Regions from separate parts of the Homo sapiens genome. Here all the other regions are linked to region 1. The links are contacts of gene promoters, found by promoter capture Hi-C in blood cells and fetal thymus (Javierre and others, 2016). All regions are on one chromosome and are shown on one strand. The core of a region is centred on a gene start or on the middle of the fragment in contact, and the rest is flanking DNA. Distances in the headings are between cores, read along the strand shown. Region 1 holds the start of SAP30L-AS1 (SAP30L and GALNT10 antisense RNA 1). Region 2 holds the start of CSNK1A1 (casein kinase 1 alpha 1). Region 3 holds the start of TCOF1 (treacle ribosome biogenesis factor 1). Region 4 holds the start of RBM22 (RNA binding motif protein 22).

Region 1 (3,202 bases), core at 277-2,776:
CATTTTTTATACCAATAGTTTTCTTTTTTCTTTAAACATAGATGTACAGACATCGTATCCTCCATGCAATTTCATATCCTGAATTTTTTTACTTATCATAAAAAAAGCATTTCTCCAACTCCTCATCAGCTCTTTATTTAAGAATTAATGGTGAATTATTCTCTATAGAAAATGTTTACATTGATGTTGAAACTACCTCAAATGCTAACTGCACAATCTCTTTCTGAAGATTTTAGGTAGTTTACTTAACCACTTCCCTTTTGGAACTCTGAGGTTCTATTTTATTTTTCCTATTATAAATAATTCCATAATGAACATCACTGTACTTCATATTATCTCTGATAGGCCTATTTCCGACGATGGCTGTCCCACGTGTGAAATTACCAGTTCAGATGCTACAAATGCATTTATGGCCACTGAGCAAAACTTAAGATCACCAGCCACCTGCTTCTAAACATGGAAACTGGTAGCTTTCCCTTTTACAACAGGACACAAACCCGAAGCTCCTTCTATGCCCTCTAGTACTAACACTTGCTTACCTATCACCTAACACAGCCTCCCCTCTTCCCTGCCCATAAAACGCTGCCCAGCCCTACATAATTACACGACCCTGGGCTGGTCCCATCGCCTTTCGGACCTCATCAGTCCCCATGCTGCGCAGTTGGAGAGTGGCATGACTGAAGTGCTGGACCAGAGCATATCCTACGGCCCCTCCTGGAGGGGAGGTGGTGCCCTGGGCGCCGAAACCAAGCGCAGGGTCTTGGCAGGGCGCAGTCGCTTCGCCGGTAGACCCGGGGACTCAAAGCAATAGAACTACAGCTTGGAGCTCCAGGGAGAGCCCAAGACACCGCAGCCCTTCCCCATCTAGATTCCGAGATTGGCCCCTGGGCCCCACTCCCAGCCTTCACTTCATCTCCCCTGAAGCCCTTTCTCTTGCCCGCGGCTCACCTAGTCCACCCTCCAGACCTCATTCGGACTTCCCATTCTTCCCAGTGGAGGGGTCGCCCAAACCCCTCGGGGTCTCCTTTCCCCCTCTCCTTTTCTTTCCGCGCCGTCCAAGCCAGTCCCACTCTCCACACTCTGGAAGGTATCGGCTACCCCCAATATTGCGACTGCCTTGCAAGATCCCCCCATCACCTCCTCCGCATGTCTTTCCACGTATCTGTATGGGGTTGTCCCTCTGTCTTTCCCGCCATGACTGGCTTTCCGTCCTATTTCACCCACCCTTCCTCCCACGGATCCGCGAGTCCTCTGGCCCTGGCCCTTTCATTTTATTAGTCCGCCCCTCTCCTGATAGCACCTCTATCCTCTTTAGGTCCCCTCATATGCCCCTCCTCCAAGTCTGTCCCTCAGCGTCCCCGTCCGCGTCTCTACTGTCTGTCCCCGAATGTGTTCCTCTGTTCCTGGAGTCTGGCCCTCGGTCCAGCCAGGCCCCTGCTCACCATCCCTCCCCCGGGCCGGAGAGTCTGCAGCCCGGTTCCCGGTTCTCGCTGGGGTAACTCTTTCCTCTTCCACTTTCTCTACTTTGAACCCATCCCAGCAGAGTCCAGGAAGTAGCCTGGCGCCGGAGACTGGCGGCGGCGACGCCCAATGGGACGCGCCAGCGGCGGCGGCAGCCCCGCCCAGAGAGCAAATGAGACCAATGGTCGCGTGAAGGCGGGACTTCCGCTGTCCCGCGAAGGGCGGGGGGAGCGAACTGTTGTGGTGCGGAGCGTTCGGCGGGCGGCGGCCGGGCGGCCCAGGGGCTGCCGCGGGACTCGGGGCGCAGCCGAGTGGCTGCAGGGGTGGAGTGGGCCGGACGAGCCGCGGGGCCCGGGTGCCGCGGGTTCGAGGCCGGGCCCCGCGCGAGGAGGCCGCGCCACCCCGGGGGAGCTGCCCGGCAGCGAGTTTGCCCCGCTGCCGAAAGAAGGCGGGAGCCGGCAGGGGCCTTCGAAACCCCCTGGCAACCCAGGCCCGGAGTCCTTGGGGAGCGGCTGTTTCCTGGGACGCCCTCCCGGACACCCCCGCTGCAGGGTTACGGTTCTGGGCCCCCGGCAGAAGGCTCCTCCGGGTGACCCCCGGCGGGGCCCTGCGAGCCGCGGGAGCCGACCCCGGGGCCTCGAGCCGGGAGGAAGGGGGCTTCCGGAGGCGGAGGGCCGGGGGCCGAGGGAGCCGGGCCTCTCGGACGCGGGGCAGGGCAGCGCCCGGGCTGGAGACGGACTCTGGGACCCTCGGCTGCGGGGGTCTCAGCGACCTGCCCCGCGGCAAGCGCGGCCGCGGAGTGGCCTACCGGGGACCCTCCCCCAGAGGGACCGGCCCGGGGCGGGGAGATGAACGGCTTCAGCACGGAGGAGGACAGCCGCGAAGGGCCCCCCGCCGCCCCAGCTGCCGCCGCCCCGGGCTACGGCCAGAGCTGCTGCCTCATCGAGGACGGCGAGCGCTGCGTCCGGCCCGCGGGCAACGCCTCCTTCAGCAAGAGGGTCCAGAAGAGCATCTCGCAGAAGAAACTCAAGCTGGACATCGACAAGAGCGTGAGTCCGCCCCCGCTCGCGTCTGGGCCCCGGCGCCCCCAGCTCTCCGTCCGCTGCCCTGGGCTCCAGTCGGGACTCCCCGGGCACTCCCCGCCGTGGGCCTCGCCGCCCCGGCTCTGCAGAACTGAGTTGGACTCCGCATTTCAAAGGCCGCTCCAGCGCTGACATGCTCTGACTGTGATTCTACCCAGATCCGGGAGGATGGGGGCGGGGGCTTCAGGACTCCTGCTGCCTGGAAAGATTGGACAGCAGTTTCCAACTTGTTTTATTGGTTTAGACTTTAGAGCAGGGAGAGGTGGGTTAGTTTTGTTGGCCCTTGAAGGAGCAAGAATCGGAGCGGGGAGTGATGAAGATACCCGGCTCTTTTCCAACTTCTCTCTCCTTCTAGGAACCCTGTTATTCCTTCAGACAGAGAAAGGTGGCAGTTACTTCCCTGGCTCCCGCATCCTCGGTATCAGCAGAGGGTCACCGAGCTAGCTGCTTCGCAGGCAGCTGTGGGAATGGGTTTTTCTAGGATGTGGCAGAAATAAGGCCAAGGCCAGGTCTTGAGAAATGGCTCTTGCAGTCGATGTGACTGGAGGGGGGAAGAAAAGAAATCAATTTTCTTAGTGGTAGTTTCTTTTGAAATAAGGGGGTGGATATTTAAATTTAAATCGGATTGCCCTGCTCTTTGTGGCTTATTATAGGAAACT
Region 2 (3,202 bases), core at 528-3,027, 4.9 Mb before region 1:
CAAGCCAGCTCCAATAGCAACTCGAACTGACACTGCCGGGTCGCTTCGGCACCTTCAAATCCACTTCACTGGACAAACCTAAGTACATCAGAAGTGCCGCCGTAAAAAAGGCAGCAGCCAACCCTTCCGCGTAGGGATCAAAGATGACCTGCACGCATAACTGCAAATGAAAGCCTCGGGAAGAGTGAGAATGACGGAAGCGAAATGGAGCAGTGTAATACAATGAAATAAGTTGGCAAACTGAAATTTACTCAGTAATTGAGATGACTGACTTACAGGAAACCACCAGCTATAGGGAACCCAGGTAACTAAAACACCAAGACCCGGATTCAGCTGGTCTCATTACCTGCCTCTACCCACTTCCCCATTCCGTGCTTCCCTCAGCGGATCGCCTATATGCACCGGGTTCTTACCGTATGTGGGGGATGCCAACCCCACCTTGAAGAATCTTATAGAGCTTGCTCTCGTACAGCAACTGGGGATGCCTGGCCTTCTGAGATTCTAGCTTCACTGCCACTTCCTGCAGGGGAAAGAGGGGATGATGGCATCAACATCCCTACGGATTCAATGTCACTTAGGAAAGGAGGGAGACATTAGCAAAACTCCAAGTCGCGACTACAAGAAGAAGTGAAAAGCTGGAAAGAGAAAGCTCTCGGTAATTATAAAACGAGGCAACCAGCCTCAAAGGCCTCTTCAGGGGGTAGTGACGAAATCCGTACGTCCTCTAAAGTGCAGGAAAATGATTCATCCAGAAAAAAGAGGCAACCTCTGAACGTAGTGAGAGGTTTTTAAGGAACTAGGCGATCGGAAACTGTTCTAATTGGAACAAGAGGCCCAGTAGAATTAAGAATTAAAAAAAAAAAAACATGGGAATCACTGAAAGAGGATTTTGCCGTTTCCACCTTAAAAGACGGTTAAAAAAAAAAAAAGCTCGACTAAGGGACATTTATGGGACGTGTTTAACAAGGTGGGAAACTAGTTCCCCCAACCTTTCTATCGGGTTCTTGACCCTTTTAGGGAGACAGCGGACGAGGTTCGTAAGCCAGGAAAACTAGCTCCCTGGACTCCCTGGCGAGTGCGTGCGATGAGGAGAGGCCCGAGCACTTTGGGGGTGCACGGTGGTGGTGGGGGGAATGAGTAAAAGCGCAGCGTTATCGTGAACCCCACCCCAGATGATTACCTCGCCGTTGGTGATGTTGATCGCCAAATAGATGTCCCCGAAGGAGCCAGACCCGATCTTCCGTACCAGTTTATATTTCCCTCCGACAATGAATTCAGCCTTGGAGCCGCTGCTACTCGCCATCCTGAGAGACGAAGATGGAGGCTGGGGCCAAGCCCCGACACCTCTGGGAAGAGGACGGAGGCCTCGGGGCTCCTACACTAGGCAAGGCTACGGAGGAGGGCGGCAGGAAACGGAACACGGAGGCCTTTACCGGGGTTCGGGGCCCAGAATCAGCAGAGGGGAACCTGATCACCGCCGCTCAGTCAGGTTTCTTTTTGCCAGGCCGCAGTTTGTGAAGGGCTTCTCGGCGGTTACCAGGCTGGGCCACTTGTTTCTCGGCGGCCGCCGCTGCCTCGCTTGCGCGGCGACGTCGCGGGCTGGAAAAGGGGCGCGGTGAGCTAGGGCGGCGATACCGCTGCCACCACTGCCGCCGGCTCCGGCCCAGAGGGACCCCTGTCACTCCGCGGACGACGCCATCTTGTTACTCCAGCTCCAGCCAACACAAAATGCCCCCAGTCCCCGGGAGCCGCTTCTTCACGGCGCAGAGCACTCTGGGAAAGGGATCTCGGGCGCTCGCTCCGAAGGATCGGCAGCGAGAGGGCGGAACCGGATCCGTGAGAGTCGCGGCCCACGCTCCGAGCGTCACCCTGTCACCGCCCAGCTGCGCATGAGCGCTGCAACTCCTGCTGACTGCGCAGGCGTGCCGCGGCCTGTCCTCACCCCCGTCCCGGGCTCTCTTCCACTTCCGGTCGGCGGCGGCTCAGCAGGTGTTACCTGTTACTCGCCTCGGACCCGCCGGGTCTCTGGAAGGCTGAGTGGCCCCCCGGCCTTGATATTGGGAGGAGTCACCTTCATGTTTCGTGGCAGATGAAAGCTTAAGGCCTCCTTAGGAGTTGGGTATTGACCTGTGCTCTTTGAGGCGGTTTTTAACCTTTGATCTTTCTTCTGGCCGTTCCCCCGGACCGGCCTATTCCAACCCAGTTTCTGTTTGGAAAGAGGCTGTCGCCTCTGGTGGAGAGGAAGAGAAAAGCAGCCAGCGTCGAGGAATCTCTCAGGGCTCTCGGTTGTAGCAGAGCCTAGCTAATTACCCTTCATAATTAGAATTGTCCTATCTACTACGGAGTGTTATAGACCCTCTTTCCACAGGAGGGGAAGAAAGAAAGAAGCCGGAATCCCCCTGCCATCCTATGTCTTTGCATTATTGCCTCACTACCACATATGATCTTCAGAAGAAAACCTGGTATGTTGCTCATAATGAAGATTAAGGATAGATGGAATCAACAGAAAATTAATTTAACAAGAGTGAAAAAACTGTTATGTCCCCTCAACCCCACCAAAAAAAAAAAAAAAAAAAAAAAAAAGAATCGTATGTTGGTCTTGTTGAAAACCTCAGTATTAACCTGAACAGAGTAGAGGTAACTATTACAAAATTTAATTGACAACATTTAAAACTACACGGTAATTTTTTTCTTTTTTACAAAAAATCGATCAGAGAATCAAATTTTGACCACGTTTTGTTTTACAAAATTTGACCTGGGAAAATTGGGCTTAGTAATAATAATGTTCACGAAAGAAAACTCCATGGTTGATGCTATCATCTTAAGTCAGACCTCAGTCGTAAAAATTTAAGCTAAGCCTATCCTAAATAAAATTTAATTAAAATAGAAATGGGGGGCGGGCGCAGTGGCTCACGCCTGTAATCCCAGCACTTCGGGAGGCCGGGGCGGGCAGATCACTTGAGGTCAGTTGTTCGAGACCAGCCTGGCCAACATGATGAAACCCCGTATCTACTAAAAATACAAAAATTAGCCGGGTGTGATGGCGCACACTTGTAACCCCAGCTATTCGGGAGTCTGAGAATCGCTTGAACCCGGGAGGCGGAGGTTGCGGTGAGACTAGATCACGCCACTGTACTCCAGCCTGGGCAACAGAGAGACCCTGTCTCAAAAAAAAAATAATTAATTAAATAGAAATGGGAGA
Region 3 (3,202 bases), core at 327-2,826, 4.1 Mb before region 1:
CTGAGTCACAGTGACTTGCCCAAAGTCACCTAGTTAATGAGGCAAAGCCAGAATTTGAACCCAGGCAGTGTGACTCCAGTGCAGCTTTTAAACACTATATTATTACATAAGAAAACACTATCCTTTTCCTTCCTGCACTTACCCGCTGTTTGTAACACTGTATTGTATGACTATTAGTTTAGTATGTGTCTCCTCCGTTAGACTGTAAGCTCTATTGGAGTAGAGACAATTCCATCACTAGACTGTAAGCTCTATAGGAGTAGAGACTATTCCATCCCCAATGGTAGGTACTCAATAAATATTTGCTCAAGAAAATGGGAAATGTTGAATGTGTACAGACACATAACATTTTCCATTCAAGTTCAAGACAAAGATAACCACATACCTGGACCTCCTAGGGTTAGGGACTCCTGCGCCCGTAAGAAACATGCTGCCCTCAGATTCTCAATGGGTCGGTGAAGTTAAGAACAGCTCACTCTAACATTCTCCAGCCTACCTCACCTTTTCCCTGCCATCCTTCCCTCAACAACTACAACAGCCTCACATTTAGTATTAATGGTATGTGCTTTGGTTTTAGCAATCTTTTAAAAACACAAAACAGGGTCAACCTCCTCGGAAAAGCCAGTCAGAGACTATCTAATGCCCTCAGAGCAAAGTCCAAACTCTGTTGGGGGTGGGGGAGTTGTAGGCCTTGTCTACTTCTTCATCCTCATGTGCCCTCATTTGTTCCCTCTTCCCCACCTCACCCCACCCCACCTGGACAGCCCAGCAGCGCAGACTAGGGGTTCTGGGTTTAGGGTTCCCAGGCAATAGCAGGGTGTTTTCTCATGCCTAGACTCATGCAGTGCCCTCTGCCAGTCCTCTCCTTTGCACCCAGCAATTTCGGGTGTCTTTATGCCTCAGCTTAGATATCTCTCTGGGGTTCGGTGCTCCTCCTTGGGGCGCCCATAGGCTGCATCTGTCCCTGACAAGGCACACAAGATATTGAACTATAGTTGCTTGGTTACGGACAGTCGTCTCTGTGAGCTTTGAGGGCAACTGCCATGTATTATGCATCTTTTGAATCCCCCTAGCCTAGCCGGGTGCTAGCCCAAGTTAGGTGCTTATTACAGATTTGTTCAGTTAGCGAATGAATCAATGAATAAACTGGCAATTCGTGTCTGGTTCATGGGCACCAAAAACCGTGCGAAATGGATAAATGAGCAGGTAATGGCAGTACAAAGTTCGGATCTAGAGAAAGATCCAGATTAGGGAGTTCAGAGATGAGTAAAACGCAGACCCAGCCATCAGAGAATTAACAAGGAAGATAAATCTCTTCAAGAAGCCAGCCGGAAGGATTAAAAGAGAGTCGTCCAAGTCCCGGCCGGCCCCGGGGGCGGGTCCCTGTCTAGCCCCGCATGCTCCGCGCCAATGGGCGGTATTGTTGATCACGAGTCTCCGCCCCCTTCGCCTTGAGGGGCGGGGCCGGCCACTCCCGGAGAGGGGACTACGTTTCCCGGCGCGCCGCGCGGCCGGAGCGAAAGAGGAGCCGGAAGTGTGGCGCGCGAGGTCTAAGGGCGCGAGGGAAGTGGCGGGCGGGGACTAAGGCGGGGCGTGCAGGTAGCCGGCCGGCCGGGGGTCGCGGGTATGGCCGAGGCCAGGAAGCGGCGGGAGCTACTTCCCCTGATCTACCACCATCTGCTGCGGGCTGGCTATGTGCGTGCGGCGCGGGAAGTGAAGGAGCAGAGCGGCCAGGTAAGCGTTCGTGGGCCGTGTGCGAGGGCCGCGTGCAAGATGTGGAGATCAGCGGCCCGCGGCCCGCGCCCCGTCCCCAGGCGACCCGGCAGGCGCCCGGAGCCGGGTCCCGCAGTGCTCGACGGCGCGGCCAGGGGTACCGGAGGAGCCGCAATCTCTGCCTTCCCACTGCGACTTCAGTTCCCCTGGGCCTCACTTTCCTCATCCGGGCAGTGGGTTGGGCCAGAAAGTGTGCTCGCAGGGGCCGAACTTTGTAATTCCCGCTTCCCTTACCTCCACGCCCTTCCTGGTAGCGGGTATTTTAAGTTTCCTAAGTCTCCCGCCACGTGGCTAGGCTCTGCGCGGCCCCCCCTGGGGCAAGGAGGTTGCTGCGAGTCTCGGGGGTGGATTGCGACCAGCCCCTCGGGGGAGCGCCTGGAAAAGGGACCCTACAGCCTCTTAGTTGAGCTGGAACTCAGGCCTTTAGCGATTGTCTGTACTGAGACGGTCAGCTTTGGTACTCGAACTCGTGGTACAGTCATTTCTTACTTGATTAATTCAACTGTTAATCCGGTACTCAGGGTGCTTCCTGGTGTTCGAATGGTGAGCACCATCTCTCAGCCCTCCTGGAGCTTACACTCTAGTAAGGTAGACAAATCAAAGAATCACAAAAGTGACTATATGCTTAGCACCGCAATAAGTGTTAAGAATGAGAGGGATGGGCCGGGCACGGTAGCTCACGCCTGTAATCCCAGCACTTAGGGAGGCCGAGACTAGCGGATCACCTGAGGTCAGAAGTTCGAGACCAGCCTGGCCAACATGGTGAAACACCGTTTCTACTAAAAATACAAAAATTAGCTGGGCATGTTGGCGCACGCCTGTAATCCTGGCTACTCATGTGGCTGAGGCACAAGAATTGCTTGAACCCGGGAGGCAGAGGTTGCAATGAGTCAAGATCGTGCCACTGCACTCCAGCCTGGGCGATAAAGCGAGACTCTGCCTCAAAAAAAAAAGAGAGATGGATGGCAGATTGCCCTGGTCAGGAATAGCTGAGGTGTAAATGCCTTGTGGTGGGAGGGAACTTGTGTACACACTGGCCTGGAGAAAGTCCACTCTCTTGAGCCCAGGAATTTGAGGATACAGTATGAGCCATGATCATGCCACTGCACTCCAGCCTGGGCAACAGAGCAAGACACTGTCTCAAAAAAAAATTTTTTTTAAGTCCATAGCAGGCCAGGTACGGTAGCTCACGCCTGTAATCCCAGCACTTTGGGAGGCCGAGGCAGGCGGATCACTTGAGGCCAGGAGTTCAAAACCAGCCTGACCGACATGGTGAAACCCTGTCTCTACTAAAAATGCAAAAATTAGCCATGCATGGTGGCATGCACCTGTAGTCCCAGTTACTCGGGAGGCTGAGTCAGGAGAATCACTTGAACCCAGGAGGCAGAGGTTGCACTGAGCTGAGACTGAGCCACTGCACTCCATCCTG
Region 4 (3,202 bases), core at 345-2,844, 3.7 Mb before region 1:
ATAAGTGATAACATCTCAAGAGTATATGGATCTGGGCTGGGTGGCAGTGGCTCACGCCTGTAATCCCAACACTTTGAGAGGCCAAGGTGGAAGGATTGCTTGAGCCCAGGAGTTCCAGACTAGCCTGGGCAACATAGCGAGATGCTGTCTCTACAGAAAAAAGAAATAGAGTATATGCATCTAATGCTAGGTAAGTGAGTGTCTTTCCACAGCCACAACTCTTAGGTTCATTTTTGGCTCCCAAGTTCACTCCCAAGAACTAACATTCCTAATGCTTTCCACAATCCCTAAATCAGAGAGGATACAGCTGTGGCCCGCCCACTTTACAAAGTTTAGTCAAAAGGTAGCTACTGTAGACTTGTCCTGTGCCAATGCCCGGAATATAGTAAATGTTCTGTTTAAACAGAACTATTCAAACATCTTGAACCATTCAAACATCGTGAACATACTAACATATCAACACCTCTACGACTACACAATAATACAGCCCTAACCTTATTATTGTTAACTGGTTCTAATTTTACCCTAGTTTGTAACAAAGGGGGAATGCTTACTTTAAAGAGATAAAGTACACTGGCCAAAAGGCATTTGACCAGGATTCAGGAAACCTAGTTTCTAGTTCTGGTTCTCCTCCTATCATGCTGACATTCCTAGAGCCAGAATATGTGAACTTAAATCCCAGCTCCATTCCTTACTATTGTATGAAAAGACACAAACGCTCTCACCTTCTGGTCAACAGACCTATTTCCTAGGTAAATGCTCAACAAATACTAGCTATCGTTATTACCCCTACATTACAGGAGTGTTACCGGATTCGTAAGAGAATACACATGACAGTTCTTTGCAAGTCGTCCAGCACTTCGCGTTAGTAAAAGAGCATCATTTTTTCTGCTTGTCTAAGAGAAACACTTCACAGTGTGCAAGTACCACAACATCGACAGGACATGAATAACTCGTTTCACACGCGATCACTCACCATTCGGATATATGGGTTTTCTCCAAGACATGTCTGGCACAGAATGGGGAAGTCCTGGTGAAAATGGGAAATCTGGTTGAGGACCACCCTCCGAAGACCCTGACACCTCAGTGACACTTGGGGTGGCGAGGGGGCGGGAAGCGAGGGTGGGGAACTAGGCACGGCAGGAACCCGAAGTCCATCACGACCCGATCGCGGGAGGGGGCGCTGTCTGCACTTCCGGCAGGCGGCGGGAGAAAAGAAAACCAGCTCTAATAGGCTGGAGGGGGCAGGGATGGAAAGGGTGCTGGTCCCGGGACCCTGGCTAAGCCCCCTCCCTTCAAGCCCGCAGGAGGATCGCCCTCCGCCCTCCTGCTCCGGCCAAGCTAGGCCGCCGCGCTGGCTCCTCCCCGGTATTCCTTCGGCCGCGCCGCAGGCCCTGTCCTGCCAGCTTGCAAGGTGCGCGGCTTCGCCTCCTCCTTCCATCCTCCTCCGGCAGGCACACTCACCGCATCCTCCCAGTTCTGCCTGTTGTAGGTGTTGGAACCCAGAGAGGTCGCCATCTTGAGAGCGTCCGGAGGTAGCTGTAGCTTCCGAATTGGGAGAGAGGACCGCCACAATCCCGTCAAGCCCCGAGGCTAGCGCCGCGCCGGTCGGCGTCTTATTTACGCGTCTAGGGCTTCTTCCGGGGCGGGGCCTTTGCGTCATGACGTCGCCCGCTCTTGGAATTTCTAAGCTTAACAATTGGGGTCCTGGTATAATGCACCTGGATGCTTCCTTCGAGTTTTTGCCTGCTTGGAATGAAGGGCCACACGTACAGTTGATTCATTTAACAATTGGGCGAAAGAATAAAGGAAGACGTAATGCATCAGAGGCTGGGGTTAAAATAGCGTTCGCTACCACTGAGGCGCTTATTATGCCAAACTCTGGGCGAACGTCTTGCGGTTCCAGTGTCTTATTTATTCGCATAACCTCTCTGTAGGGCTCTCTGTAGGGCTGCCAGATTCTGATTCTGTCTCTCTCTCTCTCTCTCTCTCTCTCTCTCTCTCTCTGTCACTCACACACACACATGCACACACACACACGCACGAATTACAGAACGTCTAAAGTTGAATTTCAGATTAACGGCGAATCGCTTTTTAATTATAAATATATATGGTACCTACTCGTCCTAAAGTAGGATTCGTGGTTGACCTGAAATTCACATCACTTAACCAATCGTCCTGTATTTTATCTGGTAACTCTACCCTGTAGGCAAGTATGATGATCCCTCTTTTATAGAAAAGAAAACAGGTTTAGAGAGATTAACCTAATCTCTCCTGATATAGCTCCTGGTTGTGGAGCTAAAAAGTGGTGAAGCCACAAATTCATTAGTACTGTTTCATTTCCAGCTTCTGAAATGACAAGGGTCTTACGAATCAACATATGCATTATTTGATTTTTGGAATAACTCATAACCACTCTGCCAATATTTTATGAGTTTCAAGCCATTCTGGTACCACTTTCATACTTACCGTGTCATCAAGCTACCTAACACATTTATTTAAATCACCTCATTAAAAAAAAAAGTTGATTTAAAGTATAATTTACATAAAGTTTTATCCTTTTTAGTTTTGAATTTTGTACATACATTCACTTACAGTCAAATATGGAATTGTCTGTCATCCCCAAAGTTCCCTTGTTTCTGTAGTTAGTCCACTTATCCCATACTCAAACCATGGCAATCACTAATTTGTGTTCTGTCCCTAGTTTTGCCTTTTCCAGAATGTCACATAAGTGGAATCCTATATATCCTTTTGGATCTGATATTTTTTCACTTAGTATTTTGTAGTTGAGATTCATCCATATTATTACATGTATCAATAATTTCTTCCTTTGTATTACTGAGTAGAATTCCATTGTATGGATATATCATACAATTCACTTGCCAGTTGCTGGATATTTGGGTTGTTCCCAGATTTTAGTGAATATAAATAAAACCATTATAAACATTCACATACAGATCGTTGTATGGACATTGGTTTTCATTTTGCTTGTGTAAATGCCTTAGAGTGAGATTATTTGATCATATGGTAAGTATATCTTTTCCTTTATAAGAAAGTCCTTGGGTTTATCTGAGCTTCTTGGATCTGTGATTTGTTGTCTTTTATTATATTTGGAAAATTCTCAAGTATCATCTCTTCAGACTGTCTTCTGCCTGGTTTCTACATCTGTGACTCCAATTTCACATGCCTTGTGAGGAGTGCA

Evidence for each region. The method cuts DNA at HindIII sites, captures the fragments that hold promoters and counts their contacts. A CHiCAGO score of 5 or more calls a contact.
Region 2: the fragment with the promoter of CSNK1A1 here is called in contact with the fragment with the promoter of SAP30L-AS1 in region 1 in 1 of 17 cell types (neutrophils); the score reaches 13.4 in neutrophils.
Region 3: a contact is called between the fragment with the promoter of TCOF1 here and the fragment with the promoter of SAP30L-AS1 in region 1, in 1 of 17 cell types (activated CD4 T cells). The highest score is 5.2, in activated CD4 T cells.
Region 4: the fragment with the promoter of RBM22 here is called in contact with the fragment with the promoter of SAP30L-AS1 in region 1 in 1 of 17 cell types (neutrophils); the score reaches 7.8 in neutrophils.

What each region holds. Positions count from the first base shown.
Region 1 is chr5:154,444,296-154,447,497 of GRCh38, forward strand. It overlaps SAP30L-AS1 (SAP30L and GALNT10 antisense RNA 1), which reads right to left and starts at 1,527. Exons shown (of 3, transcript NR_037897.1): 1 at 1,443-1,527. It overlaps SAP30L (SAP30 like), which reads left to right and starts at 1,702. Exons shown (of 4, transcript NM_024632.6): 1 at 1,702-2,510. The coding sequence starts at 2,310. RefSeq lists enhancers at 1,326-1,445, 1,499-1,999 and silencers at 1,576-2,105, 2,236-2,345. The HindIII fragment of the contact is 8,481 bases long and covers 1-3,202 here.
Region 2 is chr5:149,549,662-149,552,863 of GRCh38, forward strand. It overlaps CSNK1A1 (casein kinase 1 alpha 1), which reads right to left and starts at 1,778. Exons shown (of 10, transcript NM_001892.6): 1 at 1,181-1,778; 2 at 414-520. The coding sequence starts at 1,303. It also overlaps a transcript of ARHGEF37 not described here. RefSeq lists enhancers at 1-1,039, 1,286-1,345, 1,476-1,535, 1,566-2,235, 1,935-2,728 and 3 more. The HindIII fragment of the contact is 4,606 bases long and covers 1-2,094 here.
Region 3 is chr5:150,356,121-150,359,322 of GRCh38, forward strand. It overlaps TCOF1 (treacle ribosome biogenesis factor 1), which reads left to right and starts at 1,577. Exons shown (of 27, transcript NM_001371623.1): 1 at 1,577-1,734. The coding sequence starts at 1,627. It overlaps LOC105378226 (a long non-coding RNA gene), which reads right to left and starts at 1,300. Exons shown (of 4, transcript XR_944407.3): 1 at 386-1,300. RefSeq lists an enhancer at 595-764 and silencers at 1,365-1,704, 1,785-2,004. The HindIII fragment of the contact is 5,465 bases long and covers 1-3,202 here.
Region 4 is chr5:150,699,468-150,702,669 of GRCh38, forward strand. It overlaps RBM22 (RNA binding motif protein 22), which reads right to left and starts at 1,595. Exons shown (of 11, transcript NM_018047.3): 1 at 1,465-1,595; 2 at 977-1,030. The coding sequence starts at 1,518. RefSeq lists enhancers at 837-1,613, 1,614-2,390. The HindIII fragment of the contact is 2,219 bases long and covers 1-1,689 here.